4 separate regions of the Homo sapiens genome follow, and regions 2, 3 and 4 are each linked to region 1. The links are contacts of gene promoters, found by promoter capture Hi-C in human tissues and cell types (Jung and others, 2019). All regions are on one chromosome and are shown on one strand. Each heading gives the region's core, a stretch centred on a gene start or on the middle of the fragment in contact. The rest is flanking DNA. Distances are from core to core; before and after follow the strand shown.

Region 1 (7,573 bases), core at 2,193-4,692:
ACCTCAGCCTCCCAAAGTGCTGGAATTACAGGCGTGAGCCACCACACCTGGCCAGCCTGGCACAATTTACTGAGCACCCACCCCCGTGCAGAGCAATGCGAGAGGTGGATCCCTGAAATAATCTAGGAAATTTCAAAAGATTCCATTGTTAGGGAAGAAGGAAGGATCTCCATTTTACGGACCGTACTCTTTGACAAGTGTGCACCAATATATGACAATGTTCCCCACAAGGGGACCTCTGAGCCTTACCTAATAGAGCTTCAAGCCTATTGTTGACCCCAGGACCTAGTCTGCCAACATTTCAAGAAGGGAAAAAGATGCCTTTCTCTGCTCTATGAAATTTCTCCATGAGCACAGCCGGCCACCTTTTCCCCATGAAACACAATCTACGATGAATCTCCTGGTTTCACAATATGAAAAGTCGTTCCTTTTCCTCATGTAAAGCATAAGGAGCATATTTAAACAGTCAAATACATAATGCATTACCTAATTATTCTGGATTTTAGGTAAATAGATAATGGTTTTATCCTGTTCTGAACCTGGCTTTTCTAACAATGGAACAAACCTATACTTTACAAATCTGCTGACTAAACCATTTTCAAAATATCCTATCTTGGCTAAAGACGGTGGCTCACACCTGTAATTCCAGAACTTTGGGAGGCTTGTAATCCCCATTACTCAGGAGGCTGAGGCAGGAGAATCACTTGAACCTGGGAGGCGGAGGTTGCAGTGAGCTAAGATCAAGCCACTGCACTCCAGCCTGGGCGGCAGAACGAAACTCCGTCTCAAGAAAAAAAAAAAAATCCTATCTTCAACCAAACCCATACCTTCATATTTACATAAAAAGCTCCTGAAAATATCACAAATCATTATACATACTCTGGATACCGCAGAACCTGAAGATTTTCTGTGAAAAATCACTGTACAAGCCCGGGGGGTGGGGTGGGGTGGGGTGGGGCGGGGAGCGGAGTGGAATGGCCTCAGGGCCTCCTGAATTGAAGTAGGGCAATACCAAAGTAATGTAAAAACACACAAATTGGATCACTCTAATGGCCAATTCCATCTCAAATGATTATTACCATTATCAATTATCAAAGATCATTCACAGTTATAATAACACAGCTACCATTTATTGAGCACTTACATGCCAGGCCTTGGGCTAGGTGCTTCATATACACTCACTCTCTTAATCCTCATGTCCACCACGTGAGGTAGATACATAACCCACTATCAGAGGGTTAAGAGACTTGCCCAAAAGTATCCACTAAAAGATCTTTCTGTTTATGCCCCTGTAGGTATTTCTCCAACACTACTATCTCTGATCTAAAGTGAACAATCGAAACCTCACCAAGGATAAGATGATTCTCCCCCTCTCTCTTTGGTTCCAATTCTCTTTGAAGGAATCCCAATGTTCTCTAGACGTAACACTATAAGGCAGCGGTCCCCAATCTATATTTGGCACCAGGGACCAGTTTCGTGGAAGACAATTTTTCCACAGATGGGGGTTGGAGAGGGATGGTTTCGGGATGAAACTGTTCCAGCTCAGATCATCAGGCATTAGATTCTCATAAGGGGCACACAACGTAGATCCCTCACATGCGCAGTTCACAATAGAGTTTGCACTCCTGTGAGAATCTAATGCCGCTGCTGATCTATCAGAAGGTGGAGCTCAGGCGGTAATGCTTGCCAGCTTGCCCACCGCTCACCTCCTGCTGTGCAGCCCAGTTTCTAATGGGCTGAAGACCACCACTGGTCTGTGGCCCAGGGGGTTAAGGACCCCTGCAATAAGGCAGCATCATGAAATTTAAAAAAAAAAAAAAAATTGCAGCATCTCCAAGACTCCCCCGCTTATTGTCTCAGCACCAGGCACTATGATGACAATTTACACACTAATCATCATTTGATCCTCATAACACCTCTATGATGTAGGAATTATTAGCCCAGACTCTTGTGAAGGCCACAAAGGCTCACAGACATTATGTTAACTTATCCAAGATCACTAGAAGTGATAGAGCCACTGATTTTGAACCCAGGCCTCTCCAATTTCAAAGCCTACACTCTTTCTAGTGGGAAGAACACACTGCAGAGGTATACGGTTTCTGTCCAAACCCTGGACTTAGGGAGAGCTTCCTACAGTTTTTTCCCATCAGCCTGGCATTTCATTACCTAGAAGAGCTTTCCTTTTCCCAAACTCTGAGATTGTACTCAGGGATTTATGAAATTCAGAGACATAGTAATAGTTAAAAGAGGCACCTCTGAAGAATCCCAAACCTAATACTTCTCCATTTTACTTCCACCTTTAAAGCAAGTCCTCTGTATAAGTAAATGCTTCCCTAAATAGCAACTGTCCGTTCAGATTTCCAAACCTGTCTTAAAACATATCGCGCATGAGTTCACAACTATCTCTCACATGCAGCATAAAGTCTCTCGCTACCGTCCTGCTCACATTCTAATCATTCCCAAATAAGTCAATTCATTCCTTTATTCGACACTTATAACCACTTACTCTGTGTCAGGCACGATGCTGGCTTACCCTGTCTGCGTTTCTCAAGACACTTTAAGCTCCAAAAGGCTAAGAACCGTGTCTGTCTGGCCCAATTATGCCCTATCCATCCAGGCACCTCTCCTACCCTGCCTGGCAGAGTGCCCAAAAAAGGTCTGCTGAACGAATGAATGACAGCCCAAACTCCCTAGTGTAAAATCACAACATCCTCCACCCACTCTCCCCCAAAAGGTGGCAGGAGCATAACAGATGCCTTTGCTGATTACAAAAACCTAAAGACTCCATCATAGTCGTCCCCAGGCAGGGTATCACAATGAAAGAGGCAAAAGTGTCTGAAAAACACTGTGACGCATATTTCCAGCCCGGCATGGAGGACGTCTGCCAAAAGCATCCGGTAAAGGTCAACTGGGCTGCTGGGAAACCTGCCCCAGTGCGAGGGCCCGGAGGCCCAACGAGGCCAGAAGCCGTAGTCCCAAATTCAAGAACTACTAACAAGGACACAGGAGGCCTGAGAAGGCGGAAGAATTAGCCCTGACAGTCACTAGAGCGCAGTCCAGGAATGGGAGCGCAAGTAAGGCGAAGGTCCATCCAAATGGCTACCCTTCTCCCTTCTGTGAGTCTCCCGGTCCCCTGTCCCTAGCCCACCTCATTCATGGCCTCATCAACGTCCGTCCTCATTGAGGTGCCGAGAAGCCCTGTCTGCGGAGGGCTACCTGGGCTCCCAGACTTGGCACCAGAACACCCGCCAGAGAGGGGAGCTGGCAGATCTGGCCGGGACCGGGGTGGACCCTAGCGATCACTCCTCCCGTAACTCAGAGGTTACTGGCCTGGGCTGACCCGACCTGCTCGCCGGGACCGCGCGCTCACCTGCGGCCCAGCCCACACTCCCCAGTGCGGCCCCCGCTCTCCGCCCGCTCGCCGGGAGCACGGAAGTCGCCGCACCCAGCGGCCCGCGGGACCTTGCCCTGTGACCCTGCCCACTGGCCGCCGGCTCTCTCGGAGCGCAGGGATTGGCTGAACTTCAGCCAAAGGACGGAAGGAAGCTAGGCGTCCGCAACTGGGCCCCACTGCGCTGAAATGGACGTCGCGCCCTCTGTTGGCCGGGAGGTTTCTCAGTGATGTCGCCACGTGTTTTCTGCGTGGAAAAAGTGAAAGATCATCCAGTCATTTTTTTCAACTGATGTTTATTAGGCGTCTTCTAAGACCTAGGTCTGGGCACGCAAAAACAAAAGACATGATCCCTGACCTCAAGAAGCTCTTCTTAGAAGAGTATATTTTAGTGCTTTAAGACCTCTTGGGATCCGGGCTAGCTTTCTAGTGACCTTGGGAACATTATTAACCTGTCTGAGCCTCCCTTCCCCTTCTGTGTAGAGGTAATAACACCCATTTCGCAAGGATGGTGTGAGGGTTGGAAGAGATAATATTTGTAAAGTACTGTGGCAGGCACACAGCCAGCAGGGAAATAAATGTGGCTATTGTTAGTGTAAAAATAATTCAAATATAGTAAAACCTAAGTCTTACATGACCTCTTGGGTACAAGTATTCACTTCCTCCTCTGTGTCCCCACTGTACCCTATACAGACATCAATTTTATCATATACAGAAAAGTCCCAAAGCTCAAGCTTGTTAATGCTCCCACAAGGCCCTTCCCACCCTCATCCCACTAATCTCAGCCTGCATATTTATTTTGCTCGCACATACTAAACCCGGCAGACCACACTGTTTCACACCTCAGTGCCTTATTGATGCTTTTTCATCTACCTTCCCACCTTTTTTGTTGTTGTTGTTCAATTTCACTCTTGTTGCCTGGGCTGGAGTGCAATGGCGTGATCTCGGCTCACCGCAACCTCCGCCTCCCAGGTTCAAGTGATTCCCCTGCCTCAGCCTCCTGAGTAGCTGGGATCACAGGCATGCACCACCACGCCCGGCTAATTTTGTATTTTTAATAGAGAAGGGGTTTCTCCATGTTGGGGAAGCTGGTCTCGAACTCCCGACCTCAGGTGATCTGCCCGCATCGGCCTCCCAAAGTGCTGGGATTACAGGCGTGAGCCACTGCGCCTGGCCGCTTTTTTTTTTTTTTTTAACAGGACTCTCGCTCTGTTGCCCAGGCTAGAGTGCAGTGGCACAATCATAGCTCACTGCAGCCTCAACCTCCTGGGCTCAAGTGATCCTCCCACTTCAGCCTTCCGAGTAGCTGGGACCACAGATGCACACCACCAGGCCTGGCTAATTTTTGTACTTTTTGTAGAGACTGGGTTTCACCATGTTGCTAGGGCTGGTCTCGAACTCCTGAGCTCAAGCAATCCGCCCGCCTCAGCCTCCCAAAGTGCTGGGATTACAGGCATGAGCCACCGTGCCTGGCCATGTAGTGCCCTTCCCACCTTTCTTTACTATGCCAGATTGTGCTCTGGCACAATTTTCAAGCTTAAGGGTCACCTCCAGAGGAAGCCTCATACATAGACTGCTTATCACATTAGACACCCTTCCTCTATTATCTCAAACAGCTCAAAGCTAAGCTCTGGCAGTGAAGATGGAGAAAAGGGAACAGTATTGTAGGGGCCAAGGTTCACTGAAAATCAACTGACAAAAGGCAGATTAATAGGAGAAAAGACATACAAAATTTTATTTTAACGTGCATAGCACGGGGCGGGGAGGCGAGGGGGTGGGAAGGGAAGGGTCACAGGAGAATGATTACCCAATAACCCAATGGGGTACAGAAGCGTATACACTCTTTTTCATAGGGGAAGGGGAGAGATGGAGAATATAGACAATTCTTCTGAGGGCAGCAAGTGATTCTTAGGGCGAAAAAATGGACAGAAATTAACTTGTAAATGATTCTCTTTAGAATTTGAATGAGCCCGAGAAACAGGCATCATCTTGTGAAAAATCCATCCAGGCGTAGTTGCCTTCCTCAGTCTTCTTTTCTGAGCTAGATGAGATTTCGGAGAGGGGAGGAAGGCAATTTTGTTTCTTTTGGAAAGACGTTTTCTCGATCAGATTAGGAAATTCTAGAGAGAGTGCCTCCCTATACTTGGGAGAGAAGGTTAGAGGGACCTTGATTCTGAGGCAGCTTCGAAGGCCTCTCAGCATGTCAAAGCGCCAGTCTTTGGGGTATCGCTTTCTGAGCCCCAACAGTACAAATAAATATTTAGGAGACCGTTGTTAGCAGAACCTGCTCACTAACTGAATATGTGGAGAGGAGAAGGGAACAGAACTGTCCAGAGTAACTGGCATTTGGTCAGCCAATCATGTGCTAGGCAATGGGGATGCAAAAATGACTGGGACCAACCTGCCTCCAGAGTTCTCTGACTAAAGAAACAGATGGGTCTACAAAATGTCAATAGAATGTAAGAAATGTGATGACAGAAGTATACACACGCAGCACAGAGGAGGATCTTCAGCCCAGCCAGGAAGATTCAGGGAAGGCTCCCTAGAGGAACCAAGCCTTGAGCTGAGTCTTGAGTCATGGCTAGCAGTTCCCTCAAGCAGAATTGCTGAGGGGCTCAGGAGCATAGACTGAGAAATCAGATAGCCATGGGTTCAAATCCTGACTCTTGTCTGCTTATCTCAGAAAAGCTATTTACACTCTTTGTTTTTAAAAAAAGACAATAATAGTACCCACTCCTAGGGTTGCTATGAGTATTAAATCACCTAAATGTGTATAAAGTGCTTGGCATAGTAGTTTGCACCTTCTCAGTGCTCAGTAAATGGTTATTGACATGTTAAGTATTTCCCAACTGTATTGCTCCTTCTGTAATGTCCTATGTCCATTCGTGGCATTACTCATTCATTAAGCCAGAAATCTGAGTGACACCTTCAAGGCGTCCCATCTTTACATTATTCTCCAGATCCAGCTTACTGCACTTATGCCTCCTAAATGTCTCTCAAAGTCAACATCATTATCTCTTACCTGGACCACTTTAGCAGCTCCCTGAATGGTCTCCCTGCTGTCTTGTTGCCCCATCCAGTCCATTTCCTTTCTTTTGGCCGTAGTTTCATCTTTCAAATAAAACTATGAGGTTTCCATCTTAGCCTCCCACCCCCAACTCTATGGGTCCCTTCTGGCCGTATCTCCTCCACGCCCTCCACAGCCACCATAACCTGTCACCCTCTCCAGCCTATGCTTTCATTCCCAACACACATGTGCTTCCATGGCTTTGCCCAGGTTGGTCCCTTGGCCAGAAATGAATTTCTCCCTTCTCTTCCTTGACTACAAAATGCTAATTCATCCTGCAAGATCCAACTCACAAGGCAGAAGGCTTTCCCAGACTGCCTGTGCTATGGTTGTACCCTCCAAAACTTACACTGAAATTTGTCATTGTATTAAGAGGTGGGACCTTTAAGAGGTTATTAGGCCATGAGGGCTGCACTCTCATGGGTGGATTGACACCCTTATAAAAGGGCAAGTTCAACTCCCTCTTGCCCTCTCTTGCCCTCTCACCTGCCATGGGATGACACAGCAAGAAGGCCCTCACAAGTTGCCAGCCCCTTGACACTGAATTCCCCAGCACCCAGAACTGTGAGCCAATAAATACCTGTTCATTATAAGTTATCCAGTCTGTGGTATTGTTATAGCAGCACAAAATGGACTAAAACACCCTGGTTGCTAGAGGCTCTCTCCTCTCAATCCCTTGGCCCCTCTGGGAGAACAGGTTTCCCTTTGCACCATAACTTTCTGTTTATATGCTGGCCATGGCCAGACTGTAAGCAACTCAAGCAAAAGGACTGGACCTAATCTTTCACTATCTATGGGGCTCAGCATAACTACCTAGGCCACAAGAACCAAAGGAGACTCATCCACACCAGACATGGAAAACTCTATGAATAAAGTCATAGACCCATAAAATGCTGTATAAATGTAAAGGTTAAACTCAGACTCAGCCACTTCCTGGCTTCATGGTTTGAGGTAAGCTGTTTAAACCTCTCCAAGCCCATTTCCTCATCTGTAAATGGGGGTGAAAACAATATCTGTTTTACAGCATTGCTCTGAGTTCAAACCTCACCCATGCCCCCAATTTTAGAGATGATAAAACAACCTCAGAGAGGTAAACTGACCCAGCCCTTCTACTG
Region 2 (6,919 bases), core at 3,522-6,021, 710 kb after region 1:
GTTAGTGGTAGCATGGGGGTCTCAGAGTAGACATAGCCAGCCCCGCACAAGGATTCGGCATGCTGGAACCCCCAGGTACTGTCTCAGCATGTCTGCTTGTTCCAATCTCTGCCCCCCAGATGCTATGTTTGGGGCCCAAAGTTAATCACCCTACTGCCTAATTTCTTGCCAAGGGCTTGATTTGGCTGTACTAGACCCCCACCTACCTCCATCCTTCCCCCCTTTCTTTTCCAGGCGTGACGCCTGCTTCACATCTCTAATGAACACCCTCATGACGTCGCTACCAGCACTAGTGCAGCAACAGGGAAGGCTGCTTCTGGCTGCTAATGTGGCCACCCTGGGGCTCCTCATGGCCCGGCTCCTTAGCACCTCTCCAGGTAAGAACTGGGGATCCAGTCCTGATGGGTGAGGACAGAAGACCTGGGTGGACCTCCTGTGTTTGGGGCAAAAGTCACCATTTTTAGAAGATGGTTTTGCAGCATTTTCTAAGCAAGAGGAAATCTTTGCAGTGTATCTCCATCCCCTACCCCCACCGTTCTTCCCAAAATGCTAACATTCTCTTTCTTCTGAAGACTTTTAAGGCAAAGTCTGGTGGGTGTTAAGTACAGACCTGCTCACAGGCACAGGCATAGGCACCTGGAATCCCTGGCAGCCAGAGGAATCTGAATCCAGTGTTTTCAAGGTGGAGCCGCCCCCACCCAGGCCTTGAGTCAGAAACCTGACTTCCTTCCATTGATGTTTTTCTCTGCTCTGCTCGGTACCTCACCCCCATCAGTGACAGCCTTCAGCACTTGGTGTCCCTCTATGCACACCTTCTCCCTAGCTCTGCCTCACTCTGGCTGTTTGCAGGGGGAGGGACGTCCCCTCCAGCCCCTGGCAGCCCTCCGTGTCTCCCTCTTTGGCTGTGGGTGTCTGCTTGGGTCCCTCTGTCCCTGCCTGTTCCCTGTGCCCCATCTGTCAGGTTGGAGGAGCTGAGCAGATGCCTGGGAACAGGGCGTAACATGCCCGTACCTTCCACTGCCTCTGTGTTCCTTTTGAGGGGTTCCCAGCAGGGTACCCCGTCATGGGAAGGGGTGCACATCCCTGTACACCAGGAGCCCACTCTGCACTCTCAGTCCCAGGCTGCATCTCTGCAGCCCCCAATTTCATGGTCCCAGTTCTGGCTCACCCTCAAATACCACCAGGTTAGGTTGACAGCTTCCTGGAGAGCACCTGCAGTGTGAGGGTCACCCCTTGAACAGCCAGTAAGCAAAGCAGGGTCACTTGCTTATGTTCCTCTCTGGCGCCCTCTTCTGGCCCAAGGATCAAATGGTGCAACTCCCTTAACCTGTGTCTGAGCTCTGTGTCCAGAACCCTGAGGGGTTCTCTCTCCCATCTGACCCTGTGACTCACCCCCACCTCCAGTGCCGGTAGAGGTCTTGGTGGTTGAGTGTACCAAGATGATCACATTTAATTCTCACAACAAATTTCTAAGATGAGCACTATTGGCCCATTTTACAAGTAAAGAAACAGACCCAGAAAAGTTAATTACCCAAGGTCACACAGTGAGCATCTAAGGCAGGGTTTCAACGCAGGCAGTCTGATTCCAGGCTGTGCCCTGGCTCCTGCATGTGTCTACACAGAGGACTAGGGAAGGGTCTGACACAGCAGCTGGCCTGTCCGATTCATGCCCCACTCCTTCCGTTACCTTGCAGCTCTTCAGGGAACACCAGCATCCCGAGGGTTCTTCGCAGCTGCCATCCTCTTCCTATCACAGTCCCACGTGGCGCGGGCCACCCCGGGCTCAGACCAGGCAGTGCTAGCCCTGTCCCCTGAGTATGAGGGCATCTGGGCCGACCTGCAGGAGCTCTGGTTCCTGGGCATGCAGGCCTTCACCGGCTGTGTGCCTCTGCTGCCCTGGCTGGCCCCCGCTGCCCTGCGCTCCCGCTGGCCGCAGGAGCTGCTCCAGCTGCTAGGCAGTGTCAGCCCCAACTCTGTCAAGCCCGAGATGGTGGCCGCCTATCAGGGTGTCCTGGTGGAGCTGGCGCGGGCCAACCGGCTGTGCCGGGAGGCCATGAGGCTGCAGGCGGGCGAGGAGACGGCCAGCCACTACCGCATGGCTGCCTTGGAGCAGTGCCTGTCAGAGCCCTGAGGGGTGTCCACCGGGGACAGACCCAGGGGCGGGCAGAGAGGGAAGGAGGGAGGAGGCATCTTCCCTGAAGCCCCCAATCTGGCCCCCCCCTCCCCAGACTTCCTCCCCAAAACACCCCAGCTTTCTGGCTTTTCTGAGGGCAAGGGCATGGTGCCCACCCCTCAAGTGTAAGGAACTGCGTTCCGCCCCTCAGGCCCCCATGGGGGCAGGGATCGGCTTGGAAATCAACGTGGTTGTCCCCGCCAGGCCGGGGAAGGTTGGAGCAGCCCCCAGGGAGGGGGGCACTAGGTGTCATTGTGCCCGATGTCTGGCTCCCCTGCAGGAGGGAGGCTCCAGGGTAAGACAGGGCTGGCAGGAGCAGACTGCCTCAGCCCATGTGCCCTGCCGGCCAGGGCGTGGGCTCCCCTCGGCTGTGGTGCCTCCTCTGGCCCCCCAGGTCCACGTCCTTTAAATTGGCCCTTTGGCTCTTGCCCTTGGCTCCCTTGGGCAGACAGCAGGCTTAGGCCATTGATATCGCAGTTCTTCCTATCAGCTTCAGTGACCCAGGGTCTGAACTGCCTCCATCCTAGGGCAACCTGGGGCAGACAGGCCTGGTGGGGGGTGGGGAAACCTCCTTCCACCTGAGCTTGCTTGAAGGGACCCAGAGTCTTTGGGCCCAGATCTTTAAACCTTTGTGTCGTGTTGCAGCAGAGTGACGATGGGGGTTGGGGGGTTATTTATTTTGCCTGTCCTTATCCCTGCTTGGACACCTGAGCATCTGATTCCTGTCCCCCTGGTGCCATCTGGCCTGGCTGGAGCCAGGAACAGGAGGGACACTTCCCCAGAATCCGCATGTTTCCCCAGTGATTACACTCCACTGCCACCGTGGTGCCTGGCTTTAACTCCCACCCCTGCTATGACTCCTCTCTGCAGAGACGCGACTGGCGGCTCCAGCAGGGACTACCTTTCTTATAAACCCAGGGGGACCACACACACACACACACACACACACACACACACACACACACACACACACACTCTTGATCCCTTGCTTCCCTCCCCCAGTGCGTTCTGTGATCGCCAAGTTCAAAGCTGTGCACATGTGGACACTCAATAAATGTTCATTGGTGACGAGAAGCCTCCTGCGTGGTCTGCCCTGCACCTGCTCTCTCCCTTCCAGGCTCCATCAGTTCACAGCTACCAGGTGCTGAACACATGCCCTGCTAAACACATCATGAGACCTCATTCAGCCCTTCCAAGAATCCTCTGAAGGGTTCTGATTTTACAGACAAAGCAACTTTGGCATGGATAAGTGATTGGCTCAAGGTGTTGCCGCTAGTCAGTGCCAGAGCCAGGACTCCACACAGGCCATCCGACTCCCCAGCCCACATCTTTCACTTGTACAGCAGATTGCCAAACTCATGTTGATGTGGCCAGGCCTTGTGGGGGCTCTGGTGCTCTCAAGTACAGATGAAACACTGCACCCCCGCCCCCATGTCACTGGGTTGCTGCCAAGTGGCCCTGCCATATCCTCCCATTTTTAAAGAAGTCAGGAATCCTAATTTGTATGTGAAACCCAACTTTTGAATGTCAGTAACTATCTTTAATTAAATAACTACTGATCCAACAAAACATGCAGTCCAAATGTAGCTTTCAGGTTACCAGCTGTTGATCCTGTATGCCAAATGAGAAGCCAGAGGGCCTGCAAGCTTCAGCAGATGAGCCAAGTACCCACTATGGGTACTTCACCAGTCCTGAGCCAAAGCTGTGAGGTTGGAGCCAGACAGGCCCCAGACCCATACCCTCCGCAACCTCCTCCACCTAGGCCCTCAAACCTATAAGCACGTGCTGAGCATAGCCTATGTGCCCACCTGTGGTTGGCTATGCATAGACAGGAATATTTATTTATTGACTGGTTGTACTGAAAGCCATCTTCTTAGCATGGATTCTCTGGGGTAAATATGAAAAGACATAGAGGCTAGGTGTGGTGGCTAACGCCTGTAATCCCAATACTTTGGGAGTCTGAGGTGGGAGGATCACTTGAGCCCAGGAATTCAAGATCAGCCTGGGCAACACAGTGAGACTCCATCTCTACAAAAGAAAAACAATTAGCCGGGCATGGTGCCTCGTGCCTGTAGTCCCTGCTACTCCCGAGACTGAGGCGAGAGGTTCTCTTGAGCCCAGGGGTTTGAGGTTATAGTGAGCTATGATCACACCACTGCATTCCAGCCTGGAAGACAGGGTGAGATCCTGTCTCAAAAAAACAAAAACAAAAACAAAAAAACTGTAAGCAGTGGCTTCTATGTAGGTCCAAACACAGTGTGGCTGGAGCATGCGAGCCCCTCAGACTGGCCAAACGATTGCAGGAAAACTTACAGCAACTATGTGCTCTGAGACTTCAGGGTGAGGAGGGGCTTGCCAGGCAGACACGAAAAGGAACAGCAAGGTCTGAAGGCATGCAAGCTTGAGAACTACGAGTAGTTTCGCATTCCATGGTGTATAGAGTGTGAAGTGTGGAGTGGTGGAAGATGAGGTTGAACCAGCAGGCATGGACCAGATCCTACTGTGCTGTGCTCAGAAGCTTAAACGTGGAATCATGCTGAGAGATCAAATTGCAGTTTTGTTTTTTTTAGAAGCAGGGTCTCACTCTGTTGCCCAGCCTGATCTCGAAACTCATGGCCTCAAGTAATCCTTTTGCCTCAGCCTCCCAAAGTGCTGGGATTGTAGGCATGAGCCACCATCCCCGGCTAGACTGCAGATTTTTTAGCAGATTGAATGTGATCCCGTTTGCATTTTGGGAAGATGAGGCACTGCAAGAGGAATGGCTGAGCCAGGGAGCTCAGAGAGGAGATGCTAAGTCTGAACTAAGCCAGTGGCAATGAGGCTGGAGAAGATACAGGTAGGAGTTAATAGGACTTGGTGATTAACTGGAAGTGAAGAGGGGTAAAGAGAAGGGGAGTAGAACCAAGGATGACTCCCAGATTCCTGATCTGGGAGACTGAGTGGATAATGGGGCATTCACTGTCACTGGGAACACTGGGACAGAGACAGATTTGTGCATACCATACACAACTCAACTTGGTAAATGGCGAATTTGTGCTGCTCATGGTATATCCAAGGGGTAGTTGCTTTCTATGGTCTGGAGCTCAAGAAAAGTCTGGGCAAGTGACAGATTTGGGAGCTGTCAGTATAGAGGGTCCCTAAAGTCATGGGAGGGACTGAGATCATCTGGGGAAGTGAAAAGAGAAGAGAAAGGTCCCAAATAAAGTGACAGCCACCCATGGTCCCTGCTGTCAGGGTGCTCTCCCTCCCATAGTGGAGAAGTCAAACCCTGCAAAGCTTCCTAATACAAGGCAGACAGAGTTCTGTGCTTAAATGAGGTATGGTCAGAGAGTTCTGGCTTGCTCTTGGTATTTCAGCGGAGTGGGGAAAAGGGAGATCTGAGCTGCAGTTGTGAGATCTAACCACGAGATGGCGCCTTGGCATCTCCTTGTGCCAGATTTCCCCACCCTGCAAACACTCAGCCTGGCCTGGAGCAGGAGGTGATCAAAGGCTGGGAGGATGAGGGTGGCTGTGTCAACAATAAATGAGGCAGATCAGAGTTTTTTCTTAACATAAAATCCAAATGCAAGCTCACTTTTTGAAAAGAGAAGGAGCCTTGGAGAAAAGCAGTATGCCAAGTGTGCCAAATGGGAGTCCACGTATGTTTGAGCATGCAACTCTATGTCAATATATGTCCCATGTTCCTATGTGTACTTGTGTTTCCCATGAATGTCTCTGTGCAAGTTGTGTGCCCCATGTTCCCAAGGCTGTCTGCATGTGTACCCCACTGCACCCCAGGCCTCCACATGTGTGCATGTGTCCCAGGGAGCAGACAACCAGAAATCTCCACCTCCATGCCTCAGAGAGTGAGGAGTCCCTTGGCACTGAAAGAAGTAGTCCTGAGTCTGAAATCATGGGACTCTGATGTTTTAGGGAGACTCAAAGCAGCAGCAGACCATGGAGAACATCCCTCTCCCCAGTAGCCATAATCAAAATCACTCACTTATCAGATGATCTCTTCAGATTATACCTGGGTTCTATGTGTAGATACCCAGGATCATGTTCACATAGAGCCTTCCTAAAGGATCCCTTAATAGGCCAGTGGATTCATAACACCATCCATTGATGTGTTTATCATTTACAGTATTTAATAAGCATTCATTGAGTTCCTGCCATGCCCCAAGCACAGCGCTAGATACATTTTCTGTTTCTCCTTTAATCTTGTGAAGCAGTTCCTGAAAGAGGAAAAGTAAGTTAGTCACAACTGCAGAGTCTGGAATGCTCATTAGAATGTTTAAACTTTTTTTCCCCCGAAGATGGGTCATGGGGAGCCCTAGGAAAGTTTTCAGTAGGGAGGTAACATGGTCCAGTCACTCTTGTGGAAGTTGGAAATTGATCAGAAGAGATATGAATAAAGTCAGGAGACCAGTTAGAGAATTGTTGCAATGGCCTAGATAGTGGTTCTTAAACTTTAATGTGCCTCTGAGTCACCTTAAGGACTTATTAATAACACAGGTTGCTGGGCTCCACCCCCAGAGTTATTGACTCAGAAGGTCATGAGTGGGATCCAAGAATTGGGACTTCTAGCAAGCTCCCAGATATTGTTGGTGATGCTGGTCCAGGAACCACTCTTTGGCTGTGTTGCCCAGGCTGGTCTCAAACTCCTGGGCTCAAGGGACCACACTTTGAGAGCCACTGATCTATGAGTAAGAGTAAGGTAGTTTAAGGTGCTGAGACAGGGTGCCATGTGCCCTCTGGGATACCTGC
Region 3 (7,142 bases), core at 3,023-5,522, 590 kb after region 1:
GCTAACAAAAGAACCCATTCCTCCAGCAAGAAGACCCATACTCTCCATCTAACTGGAGGATGAGACAAATGGGGATTTGGTATGGCTACATTCCTGCTGTCCACCTTTTTCCAGCTAAGACTGCTGGGTTTGTGACTAGTTTACTTGAAAGACAAACCACAATGCTTTGTTAATGTAAATTGTTGGACAGCATCACAACATAGCCAAAACAATTATGATGACAACAAAAAGATCTTACACTGTAGTATGGCTGCTATGAACTTATATTACTCCATGCCCAGAATCTGTTTGCTGATTGTCAATTCCTGTCCAAGATAGGCCACATGTGAACTCACATCTGGGTAGTACCAAGTCTGTTCTATGCCTTAGCCTTAATTTTTAGTAGCCTGCCCCTTGAGCTCCATGTGAGTTTTACAATTAGAACCTTCTAAATCAGTGAGTCACACTGGTTTACAGGTGTGACCAAGATATTGATCCCCTCATCATGCAGTGTGGCTGGGTGGGACCTGGGCATCCTAGAGGCCCTGGACCAGTTGCTTCCAATACAAGCAGCCTTCTCTGTTTATCCCAAGGTGCCCTATAAATGGTATCATTTTCCAGGCATGCATGACATAAAATCTGAGAAGTACTGCCACAGACTTTCTAAAAGCTTGCTGCACAGTGGGATTAACAATGGGGCATTATCAATTCCAGAAACAAACAAACAAAAAAAAACTTTTGCCATAAAGGATGTGTGGTCCGTTGCCCATTATCTTCTCCCAGTTACCTAATTCATGCTTACAGTTTCAATTTCGGTCTATATATCAATAACCCTCAGATCTTTATCTCCTTTCCCCACATCTCTCCTGAGTGACCAGTCTATATCTGCAAATACTTGTGTGAATATCTACCCCAGAGCTTCAACAGATACCTCAAATCCAACAAGTCTCAAAATCAACTCATAACCATTAATTGCACACTATGTGTGAGGGACTATACAAACATTAACTTATTTAATCCTCATAACAATCCTATAAATAGGTACTAGTATTTTCACAGATAGTAAAACAGGTTCAGAGAGGTGAAGTAACTTTCCCACAGAGCTAACACTAGTAGGGCAGGGCTCAGAAGCTGGGTCTAATATAAGGGCCATGTTCTTTCCTACTGTAAAATACTATTTTCTTCCAATCACATGTTCTTCCTGAATTCCTTAACTAAGTCAATCCAGTACAAGCCAGAAGCTCAGGGAAACCCAGAAGCTTCTCTCTTGCTCATGCCCCCTATGCAGTGCTGGTGAATCTGAGCAACCTGTCAACAGTGCTCTTACCAGCACTCTTGCTAACATCTTTCCACTGCTTGCCAGCCAATTCCCGCCAGCTTGGATCAATCAAGCAGCCATTTGCCCTGTTCCTACTCCCAGGCTGCTGAGTATACTTATCCCTAATCGTGCTATCTCTGACCTAGTGAGCCCTGACTGTAGATTAAATTCACCTGGGGAGCTTTTCCATTCTAGGTACCCAGACCCCACTCCAGACCAACTGAACTATAATCTCTGGGGCTAAGGCTTGGGCAGTGTTATGTTCAGACAACCTCCGCAAGATTCTATTGTGTGGCTGGAGTTGGGAACCACTGCTCTCACCTCATGTTTCCAACTTGGCTGGTCCCCCAGATCTGCCTCCATTTATTACCCATCCCCTATCTCCACCATCTCCTTTTCCTCTCAGTCTATACAAATGCTCACAAACTTCCTATTTTAAAAAGATGTTCATGTTCCACAAGGACCACAATGAAAAAAAATTTTTAAAGATATTCTTTCAATCCTACCTCCCATATTATTTTCAGCACCAACTTCCTCAAAAAGGTGTTATACTGACCATCTCTGTATCCTCAAACCATGAAATCTGTCCTCTGCCTCCAACATCTAAGTAAAATGCTCTCACTATAGTTGCACTGATCTACTAATCACAAACCCATAGGCCTACTTTGTGTTCTCACCACACCTCCATCCCTGTAGCATCTGAATCCTTTGGAAGCACCCCTTTTGCCAGATCACCCCTTAACTTCCAGCAGACTACTCTCATTTGGTTTTCCTCCCACCTGATTGCTGTTTCTTAGTTTCTTTTGCTACCTCTTCTTTCTCTGCCTCCTCCTTAAATAATGATGCCCTTCAGAGTTGTGTCCTTATCCATCTTAGCTCTCTCCTAGTGAGACTCACCCGTTCTCATGGCTTTGGCTCCTGCCTGTATGCAGTAACTCCTATCTCGGGCTCTTCCTTCCACAAGTTCCAGCCTTTACTTGTGGCTATCTGACGGAACATCTCCTGACGCAGCCAGTAAGACACCCCAAATTCAATCATCCATACTGGTTTCGCCTGCCTTCCCAATCTCAGTTAATGACCTGAACCATCTATCCAGACATCCAAACCAAAAGCCTCACATTTGCTATCTCACTCACCTTCATTCGTAAAGGGCCAGGTACTACTGAATTACCACTGAATTTCTTTTAATTTCTTCTCCTCTTCTTCCACTATCTTAATTCAGGTTTTATTACCTTTTCACTGGACTAGTCCAGAAGCTTCCTGAATGGTCTCCCAGCCTTTGGTCTCTCCCTATTTTAGACTAGCTTCCACACTACTGATCTTTCTTTAAAAAAAAAAAAAAAAAAATCAAATTATGGAAATTCCTTGCTTTTAAAAACAAAACAAAAACTTCACACACATAAAACAAACCAACTTGGATCTGCCTACCCAAACTATTAAAACTAAGATCCTCAGCTTGCATATAACTGTTCTCAATCTCCACTGCCAGTCTTGTCTTCTACCACATCCTGGGGCCACTAAGCTTGAACCAAGTGACTTCTTCTGGAAGAAACTGTGTACTTTCATACCACAGGGCCATTGCTCAATGCTGTTGCCCTGTTCTGAATTTCCTCCCCATCCTCCCATGCCTGGTCAATATAAGTTTCCTTTTCCCCTTTTTTTTTCTTTTTTTTTTTTTTCTTGAGACAGTCTCACTCTGTCTTCCAGGCTGGAGTGCAGTGGTGTGATCAGAGCTCACTGCAGCCTCAAACCCCTGGGCTCAAGTAATTCTCCTGCCTCAGCTTCCCAAATAGCTTGGACTACAGGCGAACCACACTGCACCTGGCTAATTTTTAAATCTTCTGTAGAGGTGGGGTCTTGTTATGTTGCCCAGGTTGAAGTTTTCTTTATTCTAGAAAAATCTTTGGATTACTCCTACCCCAACTCTCCTAGAAGAATTCATTGTCCTTGCCACAGTGTTCCACAATGCCGCTTGTTGTACCAAACCCACACCGTACTAATGTTCCATATTTACTTATCTCCTCTACTAGACTGTGGTTGTCAAAATAGTTGACCTCCTACACCCTGGAGCCCTGCTGAAGTGTCTAGTACAGCGCATGTCACCTGCACTAGAAGACAGAAGTCTATTGAAGAAAAGGCAACATGAGTGTTTCTGGTCAGAAAGCCCACCTTTCTCTATCTAACCACACTATTTCTCAGCTCATTCAAGAAGCCCGGGGGCCCCTGGTCTTTCCTTTGCTCCCCCCATTCATTGCCCAGCTACCTCTGCTCCGTGTACGGCTGAATCTTTTGCACAATGATGTCGGAATCCAGCACCCCCAGGAGGACCCCAATCTGGCGGATGAACATCCCCTTCAGCCTCTCAGTTAGCTGACTGACGTTGATATCCAAGATGATCTCCACCAGGTTGTTTTTCCTGGGATCTGGAAAGCATGTGGATCAGTCATGGCTTTAGAAGTAGGAGAGTAAACACAGACCTGCCACTGTGCATTTGCTTTGGCACAGGAGAGAAAGGAGTGAGAACATTCAGATATCCTTCAAATGGAAAGGGACAATAGTGAATTCCTGATCGGGCAATCTGGGGCTGGCTTAGAAAGCTTCTAAAGCACTCCTGCTCTCTATACCAACCTGAGAATTCCCACACATGTGCTGGGGATAAGGCTGAAGCAGTGATGCAATGAGGGGTGGGGAGTAATGACGGGAGTGGGGAAGAGAGAAACACTTAAACATTTGTTTTAAAAGCCTCTGTGCAACTGGCAGTGCTGAGCAATCCAGGCCAAGTGGGGGTTATTAAGCAATCTCTCCTGACTCACATCTGATTTTCAGTGCCTCGCTGTATTTTGTGCACAACAATGGGAGGAAAAGTGTCCATCTCAACAACCTCCTCAATAATGGGAATGCATCCGTCCCTCCAGGTTTAAATACAGTTAACAAAAGAAAATCCAGTCAGCCAAGACACAAGGATTTCCTTAGAGCCACATCACAGCTGCACTATCTTTGTATAACTCTAAAACGGTGAGGCTATCATGTTTTACTTTTGAATATGTCCTAAAGATGTTCTACATTTGGAATTTCAAACTGATTGTTTGGAATGCCTTATTTACATACTTGAATGCACCACTTGCCTGTTCTGATGTATAATTTGCATAATTAGTAGACTATCTGTGATCTGACTTTAAACACCAAAGAGATTTTATAGTGTCTCAGCTACTGTCCTTCCTAGAGGCAGGACAAGGACTGGAAGACCTCCCAAGATCCCTTCCTGTCCAAAACATCCATATATGAGGTTGGCCTAGATAATAAAGAGTAGGTTTAAAGTTAATACCATTTCATCAGAAGCTCAGGAATTTATACAGCTCTATCCCACCTCCATACTCAGTGCCTCCCTATCACCATATTAATCTCAAAGCAAAATAAAAACATGGTTCTATTTAAGAAGAAAATTTTTATTTCTGCAAAGCTGAAAAATGTAAAGAGCACTATTACTTTACCTTCCCTGGATTATCAGACAAGGCCTGAGGCTCAACTTATAAAAATAAATTGTTTTCTGCATCTGGATGCTGATGAGACATCATGACTCAAGCTATTCCCATGCTCAGATTCCCAAGCACTCTGAGCCCTCTCTCATCAGTCACGAGGAGAGGAGAAAGTGCTGGACTACGAGCACAAAGGCCTGGCTCTGACACAACTGCTGTGTGACACTGAGCAAGTCCTGCCCTCTCTGAGTTTGTTTCTCCATCTGAGATGAATAGGGGGAGGTCTGTATTTCTGCATGGGTAGGAGGTATTATTGGAACAGACGGTCTCTATGGATTTTTCAGCTTGGGGTTTCTCGATTATTTTTAAAGCTGGACATGCCATCTGGCTCTGTCCATGCTCGGGGAAGGGGATCTCAGGATAGAGGCCTTGATTGGCTGATTCAGCAATTCTACTCAGCCTCATCACTAAATGAACTCACCAGGTTTCACCTCCACAGTGGTCCGGTCTGTGTCACTCTCACCCTTTGCATCGGTCACTTTCAGGTGAAAAGTGTAGGTTCCCTCAACCAGGTTTGAAAGAAAAAGGATAGGGTGATGGTCAGAGTGATTTAACACCTCCTGTAGGGTTGAACAACATGGCTATGTTACAGAACAAAATGCCATTCCTTTCCTGGAGTCAGTTGCTGCTTTCACCATAACTAGGCCCTTCAGGGCTGAACTGTTTCAACCTTGGGCAGTTCCTGATACGGAACAGCATTGCAGCCTACAACTGCTAGGATCAGGGAAGGGAAACCCATTCTGTGCTATACTAGCTTACAGAATGACCCTAAGCAAGTCACTTCACCTCCCTGGATTTCAGAGAACAATCTGGGTTTGATATAAGGGACCACTTGATTAAAGCATATACTGGAACGCGTGGCTCCTCCTCCTCCCCACTCCTGTGTAGCTCTCCAGCTCCTAGCACACTTACCCCTGCTGCTGGGCTCCCCTCATCTCGAGTCCAGAGGTAGCTGACTATTCCCTTGTCATCTGAGGACTTAGAGCCATCCAGCTCTGCTGTGCTCGTGGGTAGGGTAATCACCACATTCCCAGTTATCTTGGCTATAGGTGGTTTGTTTATTTCTAATCAAAAAGAAATCATTGACATAATGTGACATTCTGGAAAAGAAGAAATGTTTCTTCATGATGCTTATGGGGAAATTAAAACATCAAGAGTACCTTAACTGGAGAACCTTTTTAAGTGCCTGTCCCTGCCACCAACCAACAGTGTAGATGAAAGCTACCAGCGCTGCAGTCCTGAGGTTCCAGTCCTACCCAGAGAAATGTTCTCCTAACACTGTACAACAGAGGGGACGAGTGTGCTTTCCTCTCATATTCTCCCAGCAGCCTTCCCAAATGGAATCCATTTCTCTGCTTTGGAGGTATGTGATGATCAGAAATAACGGCCCAAACTGGCTTAAAACCTTGGAGTTTAGGTTTCACCTAGCTGATCTTGCAAATTCTCCTTCAAAATATCTTAAAATGTTATTCTCTGAATATCTTTTTGGACCCCTTCCTTGGAACTTCACAAGAGAAAACAAAGAGCTACCTCTCTTATTCGGAGCCCCACGTGAAGCTCTGTATATTCAGATGTCTGTGCAGTATTTACTCAGCTTGGTATCTTATGTCTGGAGGTCTGCATATCTGATGGTTTTTCCTGCTATCAACTTAAGGCCCTCAACTTAAGGCCCTCTCCCACAGCTCTCACTGGTCACTGTGCCTGTAAACTAGAGCAAGGCCTCTGGCTGGCCTCAGCTCAAAGGCTCAGGGCAAGCATAGTCAGCTGTAGTGCGGCCGTCATTCTCAAGCCTGACAGCAGGTGTCACTGTAGCTAACAGGAGTCACGGCCCAGGTCTCAGCAATGCAGAGGGGCAAAATAAAAATGCAAAGAATAGAACCCTTAATTCTTTCCCTATTCAACTGAGAAATAAAGTAAGGAGGGAAGGAGGGAGGACTGAAAAGAAAGTAAGGGGATGAGAGGGAAGGGAAGATGTAAGCAGGAGGAGGGAGGGAAGTTAAAATTCACCTTACAGTCCAATTAAAGGCTGTTTTAGAAAAGAAAATAACAATTGCCCTCACCCCAACCCTCTTACCCACCTCTTGCTATCTCTAATCAATTTCTGCAGGCAAACATGACAGGATAAATTCTTCAGCTATCTGACCCTAAGAGGCTGCTACACAAACTGGAGGCAGAGAGGTACCTTCTTTGACAATGACATTCACAGAGCTCTGGCTTTGCAGGTTCCTCTCATCTTTGACAGTCAAGGTGAACACATAGGTCCCCACTTGCAGCCCAGTCACAGTAGCAACACTGCTGTTAGCATTCTC
Region 4 (7,440 bases), core at 2,614-5,113, 680 kb after region 1:
CTTTCCTGTCTAAACTCTAAACTAGAAAATCCTTTCAAATCCCAAAGAAATCTTTCCTCATGAAAGGACCAACCAAATTTCAGCTCCCTGAGCTACCTATTTCAGACCATTCGACTTCACTCAAAGGTGACATAAGCCTTCACCATGAAAATTTCTGAACAAAGCAACAGTGGAGAATAGCTTCCCAGTTCACCTAGGCAAAGAGCCATGCATCACTGATGACATCTAGATCCATTCACCTTCCCTTGTCCTGAGTAATGATGAAAAAGGAAAAACAGAAAAAGATACCTCAAAGTTCTGGTCACCTAGGTGAAAACAGGGAAACCACTCTATCACAATTCTAATGCCTTTAACTTCTACCTAAAACAACTTAATAAATCAAAAGTTTGCATTAATTGGATACAGGTGCTATTCCATTTCAAAAGACCCATCTGCCAAGGTTTAGCCCAAAGGCATTTTTCACAGCCAAGTATTAATCAAATCACTGGTGTAGCTGAAAATAGCTCTCCTACCATAAAGTCACCTGTTCAGAAACAATCCAGTCATCAAGGGCTTTATAATATTTAAAGGCAGATTGAAGGCAAATGATTAAGCTATGCACTTAAAAAAAAAAAAACAACTGTAACTAGGGGGTTACACTGCTGCATATGATGTACTCAGAATCTCCTGCTTCGCTTTTTCTCCCACCACCTTATGACTAAAAGACTCTGGAGAATGCTGTCAGCAAGGAGAGCACGCCTCCAAGCCACAGCTTGAAGGAGCCCACACCTCTCTATGTAATACTGTCTTTGTACTTCAAAAAGCACAGGTATTAAATTATAACAGATAAACTTTTGCCTATACATAAAAGTGGTTCTAAAAAGAAAGAATTGTTTTTCTAAAAAGAAAAGCACCTAGATATGATGTCGTGAATCTACCAATTCCCTGTGTAGCCCACTTGTAGATGGTATTGTTAAGAATCTGCAGTTGATTGCCATTTCTCATTGCAGTTATTACCGGCTGATAAATTATTTGCATTCAGCACAATCATACCAACCTCCCTTGGAAACCCACACAAAGAACCCTGAATCAGAGCACTATTTTGTTTTTTGGGAAGGTTTTTCCTTTCCTTTCCTTTTTTTTTTTTTTTTTCTGGCTTGTTTTGTTGTTTTTAAAGAGAAGGTCATTTAGAGGGCCGCAGCAGAAATATGTAAATTAAACAGAATTGTAGGCTTGGGAGGAAGTAAGGAAATAATATAGCTAGCCATGAAGTGTTATTTCAGCAGATATGGCCAATAGAGGAAAAGTTTATATCAATTTACCCATTGAAACTCTCTCTTTTTGGAGCATTATGTAAGCGCCATTAAAAAAAAAAAAAAAAAAAAAACTGCAGTGGGCTGAACTGGGACATGTGAGGACTCAATACAACCAAGCTTCAGATACTTAAATATCTCGAACCACTTTTTGCTTATAGCAAATAAAATGCAGAGCTACAGATGCTTTCTCATCTGTGTGTAAATGAAAGCAAAACTGTGTGAGTAGTTAGTATTCTTAGAATTTTTGAGAGCCAGTTTATTTAAATTAAATCAAAGCCAATCTGTATCTGTACAGAAATAATTTCTTAGGGCTCTTATTCTCTAGACTTACAGAGCTGTACAAACTCTTCCCTCTATCCCTCCCTCTAAGATAAAAAAAGTGAAAAGAGCTCTGTGGGTTAAAAGCCACTTCAAATGAATCTGGGAGGAGGAGGTTCAAAGGGATTAGAACATCCCATGTCTTACCAGCCTGCTATAAAACAGGGTTCAGCTATTCTCTGCCCCATTCTTTGTGTTCCCATAGCACATCTCGGAATTGATCATGCTTCTTTATGTTTCTACATCTCTCTCTGCCTCCATAGTGTGACCTCTCTAATGGCAGGAACTTGGTTTTATTTAGCCTGATATATTATTTGTTGACCTAAAATGCGTGTATCTATAGTATATATATAAAATACCTAGATATTAATTATCATTAATAATGTGAATTAAGCATCCTAGAGAAGGTACAAAAATGCAGTTAGGCCAGGCACAGTGGCTCACGCCTATAATTCCAGCACTTTGGGAGGCCGAGGCTGGCGGATTGCCTGAGGTTAGGAATTCAAAACCACCCTGGCCAATACAGTGAAACCCCATCTCTACTATAAATACAAAAATCAGCCAGGCATGGTGGCACGTACCTATAGTCCCAGCTACTCGGGAGGCTGAGGCAGGAGAATTGCTTGCAGCTGGGAGGTGGAGACTGCAGTGAGCTGAGATCATGCCACTGCACTCCAGCCTGGGCAACAGAGTGAAACTCTGTCTCAAAAAAAAAAAAAAAAAAAAAAAAAATGCAGTTAGCTTATTTTAAGGCACTGACTGAATGTGAGATAACACATATAAAGAGCCAGAGACCACAAATATTAGGAGAATGTAATCTAAGTCAACACCATAATGTGGCACTGACATTCGGGTAATTTCATATTGTTTGGTTTATTTATGGCAATCATGTGGCTTTTAATAGACTTCATTTTTCTGACGTGTTTTTACTTGTGTTTTTTTCTTATACCTCCATTTTCAAGTTAATTGTAAGTCACATTCTACTGACAGAAATGAAAATATGGGCAAATTGGTCAACACTCCTGACTGCCAAATTATCTAGTATAGACTATCTCTAACTGCACGGAAACTGGCGTTTCCTTATCCTCATCTGTATAATGGCAACATTTCTCTGCTGCTTCAAAAAATGGTATTAATTCTAGGCAGGGAAATAAGAACACCCAAATGTTCTTCAGTGTCTCTCTCTTTCTTTGACACACACACACTACCCACAGGGACACAGCAAAGCCCTGGAAACATATCGTACACATACGGCCTTTACTCTCCACCACTTCCTCTCCACTGACAGAGGCAGCCATGCTGCCAAGGTAGCAACCCCCACATGAAATACAAAAGAGTGGAGGCGAAACAGCTCAATCAAAACAGCTTGGGAACGGAAAGGAGGGTATGCTTGTCAGAGAAAGTCTCCAGGGATAGGCCAGAAAACTTTTGTTTCTGCCTTGAACATCCTGAGCAAATAACCCTGTTCCAGGTCTGCAGACCTCAGGTCAGGGGCCAACTCCTCCCTTTAACTTTTCACAGAAGGCGTAATAGGAAAACTCGCTGTTATTTGAAAAGTCCATTGTGAGAAATGTCAGAGTGCAGCTTATAAGCATACCCTGGGGAGCACAGCTGAGAGCAATTTTGAAAACCAAGCAGTTAGAAACTGATGAAGTAGAATGCACAGGTAGAAGACAGCTTGGCACTGCTTCAGCATATGGGGCTGCTTGCTTCAGGCCAGATGCCACAGACTGACCCAGCAGGATGCAGATTACTCAACTTTCTGAGATGGAAGCTGGCTCTTCAGCTTTTCTCTACAAGGCTGCTTCATTTATTCTGATTAAGATTCATTCACTGTAGCCACCCCACTTCCATAAGCCTCCAGCTGACTCTGGTTGCCCTCAGTTAAGGACAATAAACATTGAGCTGTATCAAAAACAAACAAACAAAAAACAGAGGAGCCATTTCTTAACAGGCAGGATGGCAGTCCTCTTGAAATGGTGAACTTGAATCTGAAATTAAGGCTACAGAAGTGAAACTGAATCAATGTTACCCCCCACTCCATCTCCCAGGTCTGGTAATATTAGTCATTCCCCTTATTACCTAAAAGTGAAAGAATTCATAAGCATACATTTATTTCAAACTCAAATGTGCTGCTGGATTAGAATCAAAACATAATGTTAAGCCAGTTGGAAGAAAGAGAGCATTCCTAAAAATCCTGTCATCTGCTGAGGGAGTTTAAAAAGGGGAACTGAAGTGAGATGCACTGGGCACCCATCTTTAGGGCAGAGTCTGCAGTGGGTAGAGTTCCAGATAGGCCTTGGCTGGCATTCCTCCCTGCTTCTGTTTCCCTTTGGACAGCGTCTGTGATGGCTAACTCACCATTCAGGGACATTCATAATTCTTTCTCTTCTTAGGGCATTTTATAGTTTCCTTTTGTGATTGGCCAGGGAAGTTCAAGATTTATATAATTGGTGCTTGCTTCATGCTAAGCATTGGAATGGTTCACCTAAGATCCTGAGTAACAAACCTGATGCCAAAAGGGCAGGAGCACCCTAATGCAGAAGACTTTCAAGTGCTGATGGGCTGGGTGTATCTAACGCCCATGAAATCACCACAGGAACACACTTCCAACTTGGGGGCAAAGGCTGCAGCTATAGCACTCTTTCCACATTTCCAAATAACCACTCTAACTGCTTATTCAGGAAATGTGGATTATTAAAGGTGAGAGAGACAGAGCACTGGATAGAAAGGAAAACTGGAGATATACCATCTTGTGGACAGGAACTTCACTTACATAATTCTTGGCAGAAGGTTATTCTATTAAGACCAGCTTGAGACATCAAATTGTCTAGTCTCCTACATTCCCAGGATTCTGCAAAGAAGACTAGGTCTCTATTGTCATGGCATTACCTTGGGACCCTAGGGAAGCCTCAAACTCCTTGAAGGGAATCTTGATGTCAGCAATGCCATCCCTCTCAAAGGGAATTTCTGTTCCCTAAGAATGGCAAAGGTATTAACAGACTGCAAGCTTCATGAGGGCAGAAACCGTATCTGTCTTGCTCACCAATGTATTAATTTTCCCTTTTTTTTTTCTTGAGACAGTCTCACTCTGTGGCCCGGGCTGGAGTGCAACAGCGTGATCATGGCTCACTGAAGCCTCGACTTCCTGGGCTCGAGCGATCCTCTTACCTCAGTCTCTCAAGTAGCTGGGACCACAGATGCACACTATCAAGCACAGCTAACTTTTTATTATTTTTTTGTTACAGGGTCTCACTATGTTGTCCAGACTGGTCTCAAACTTCTGGCCTCAAACGATCCACCTGCCTCGGCCTCCCAAACTGCTGGGATTACAAGCATGAGCCACTGCGCCTGGTCTTACCACTGCATTTCTAATGCCTAGGATAGCAGGCACCTGATAAATATGTTTTGAAGGAAGGAAGCACAGGACAAACTCTGCAAGCTACTTCTTTTTTTTTTTTTTCCTTTTTTTTTTTTTTTTTTGAGATGGAATCTAACTCTGTCACGCAGGCTGGAGTGCAATGGTGCAATCTCAGCTCACCGCAACCTCTCCCTCCTGGGTTCAAGTGATTCTTCTGCCTCAGCCTCCTGAGTAGCTGGGATAACAGACATGCACCACCACACCTGGCTAATTTTTGTATTTTTAGTAGAGACGGGGTTTCACCATGTTGGCCAGGCTGGTCTTGAATTCCTGACCTCAGGTGATCCACCCACCGCAGCCTCCCAAAGTGCTGGGATTATAGGTGTGAGCCACCGCGCCCAGCCTACAAACTACTTCTAACCCAAAACCCAAAAGTGTTGTTGAATCAGCCCCAGTCAAAACACTGTCCTGACCAAAGACAGAGCCAACCTGGCCTACCACAAGGCCTTGCCAAGCATGGGCACATATCAGTTTTGGGGGAAGTGAACTAGGGCAGAGAGCAAGGTGGAGTCGTGGCAGCAGAACAGAGTCCTCTTCCAGAGGAAATGTTTCCTTAGCTGGGGGAAGAAACAAGTGGCCCATCATGCTCCTCAGTGGCATATTACAATCACGGAAAATGCACAATACAATTCATTCTGTCATGGGCTTCAATTAGTCTCAGACCTGTAAAGCTATATGAATGGAGGCCTACTTTCCCCAATAATACAGAAGGCCCAGCTGCCTACCTCATACTTAATAATGTGCAGACAAAGCTCCCACTGGACAGAGGTTTAAGAAGCTAGCAGAGAACTCAACCCTCCTGCCTGCTGGGTCATCTGGCGGTTAGACAAGAATTTAACCATATTAAACTTTTACGTTATTGCTAACAATTGCTGAGTTTTATTTATGTACCTGGGAGTAGGCTAAGCCCTTTGCATGAATATTTTATTTAATACTCACAATCCTGTTAAGAGGTACTGTCATTTCCATTTTATAGATGAAGAACCTGATGGAAAGTATGTTTCAGTAACAGCACCCAGTACATTATAAAACCATGACTGAGACTTGTCTGACACCCAAGTCCATGCTCCACGCCCTTCGCCACTCTGTCTCCTATCTCTTGCTCAGCTGATGAAAAGGCAGGTAGTCAAGACCAATTCTTACAACCTCTCTCTGGAACTTATCCAGTACTATCTGGAGTCAAAAGTGGCTACAGGACCTTAACCATATGGGCTTTTCTTAGGAAAGCTGTTGGAAGAAGGATCAGAAAGAAAGTTCAAAAGGTAGGTCCTCAAATCAAGAGCTATCCATTCTGACCCAAACCCTTCACTACTGTTCATCTGAAAATAGGTGTGCACAGGGAAGAGCTGAGGCTTTAAAAAAATAAAAAAGTGTCCAAACACTAACCACACACATAGTTCTTGACTATGTTCCTGCCAGTTTCACACAATGCCTTGAATTAGAAGCTGTTCCAATTACTGAGATTTTAATAAAATCTCCAAAATAAGCCAAAAGGCTATGCTTCGGCCCTGCAATTGTTGTTTGTTTTTATAAACTCCTCTGCTGTTTTATTATTTCCTCCCTTAAGGAATTCCTGAGGAGAATAAATTTAAGATAGTTTTTAAATTGAGTTGGATTTACTGCCCAATTATGCTAATTTTCTCATCCCTCTTCATTTTGTCACACAAATGGGGAAGTAAGTTTATATTTGCACAGGTCTTCTAAAGGGCAAAAAGAACCCACCAAAATTATGGTTTTCCAAGATAGTAGGATTTAAGATGATTATCTTTCACTAAAGTGTTTAAGCAAGACACAGTGATTTAATTTCACTGAGAGAGAGACCAACTTTAGCAAATTCTGATTGGCCTTACTTATGTCAATTAAATCGTGATATAACAAGACACCATAGACTTGCTCAATGCTAGCTGAATTTTAGAATCAAAAACCTTGCATGGTTTGTGTTAACAGCCAGAAAACTCTACCTTCCCCCAAGTGACATGTACTCAAGTCATTATCCTACAGTCTGAGGAGACTGATTTAGGATTAATAATTTATTACCTTCCTGTACTGCAATGTAGTTAAGAATATAGGACAATTTGGCAGGAGAAAGTTCCTGTTGAAGACTCATTGCTGTAAGATATATTCCATTAGTCATCTGCCTCAATTTGGGTGCCCAACAGATACATGAAGAGCAGAGATATAATGCCACCTAAAAAGTCTCCTGAAAATGCTTTTCCCCTGAAGATTAAGACCAATGCATATTCAAAATATACCATTCTCTTAAAGGAAAAAGACACCACTGGCTCTGACTGGTACAACAGAGGCTACAGCCCTCAAAGTAAGGGCAAACGAGGCAAGTGAGGGCAAGGCCTACAGGTACCTTTTTCCTGCCAGGGACACTTACTTGGGTTCAGGAATACAGGCAGG

What was found. Contacts are between HindIII fragments. The study calls those that stand out against the background at their distance.
Region 2: a contact is called between a fragment that was not itself captured here and the fragment with the promoter of SMIM12 in region 1, in 1 of the 25 tissues and cell types used here (lymphoblastoid cells).
Region 3: a contact is called between a fragment that was not itself captured here and the fragment with the promoter of SMIM12 in region 1, in 1 of the 25 tissues and cell types used here (dorsolateral prefrontal cortex).
Region 4: a fragment that was not itself captured here is called in contact with the fragment with the promoter of SMIM12 in region 1 in 1 of the 25 tissues and cell types used here (lymphoblastoid cells).

What each region holds. Positions count from the first base shown.
Region 1 is chr1:34,856,307-34,863,879 of GRCh38, forward strand. It overlaps SMIM12 (small integral membrane protein 12), which reads right to left and starts at 3,443. Exons shown (of 2, transcript NM_138428.6): 1 at 3,371-3,443. RefSeq lists a silencer at 3,265-3,394. The HindIII fragment of the contact is 9,605 bases long and covers 1-4,526 here.
Region 2 is chr1:35,563,533-35,570,451 of GRCh38, forward strand. It overlaps NCDN (neurochondrin), which reads left to right. Exons shown (of 7, transcript NM_014284.3): 6 at 235-377; 7 at 1,695-3,247. The coding sequence ends at 2,131. TFAP2E-AS1 (TFAP2E antisense RNA 1) reads right to left here. Exons shown (of 3, transcript NR_183387.1): 3 at 6,279-6,387. Among named protein-coding and RNA genes, the nearest start is that of TFAP2E, 6.3 kb to the right of the region's middle. RefSeq lists a silencer at 6,685-6,786. The HindIII fragment of the contact is 6,197 bases long and covers 1,674-6,919 here.
Region 3 is chr1:35,444,613-35,451,754 of GRCh38, forward strand. It overlaps KIAA0319L (KIAA0319 like), which reads right to left. Exons shown (of 21, transcript NM_024874.5): 13 at 7,016-7,142; 14 at 5,746-5,897; 15 at 5,255-5,393; 16 at 3,561-3,720. Among named protein-coding and RNA genes, the nearest start is that of ZMYM4-AS1, 82 kb to the left of the region's middle. RefSeq lists a silencer at 6,488-6,667. The HindIII fragment of the contact is 6,659 bases long and covers 944-7,142 here.
Region 4 is chr1:35,536,272-35,543,711 of GRCh38, forward strand. The region is part of intron 2 of KIAA0319L (KIAA0319 like); the gene reads right to left. Among named protein-coding and RNA genes, the nearest start is that of KIAA0319L, 17 kb to the right of the region's middle. RefSeq lists enhancers at 3,678-3,727, 3,778-3,867. The HindIII fragment of the contact is 7,143 bases long and covers 293-7,435 here.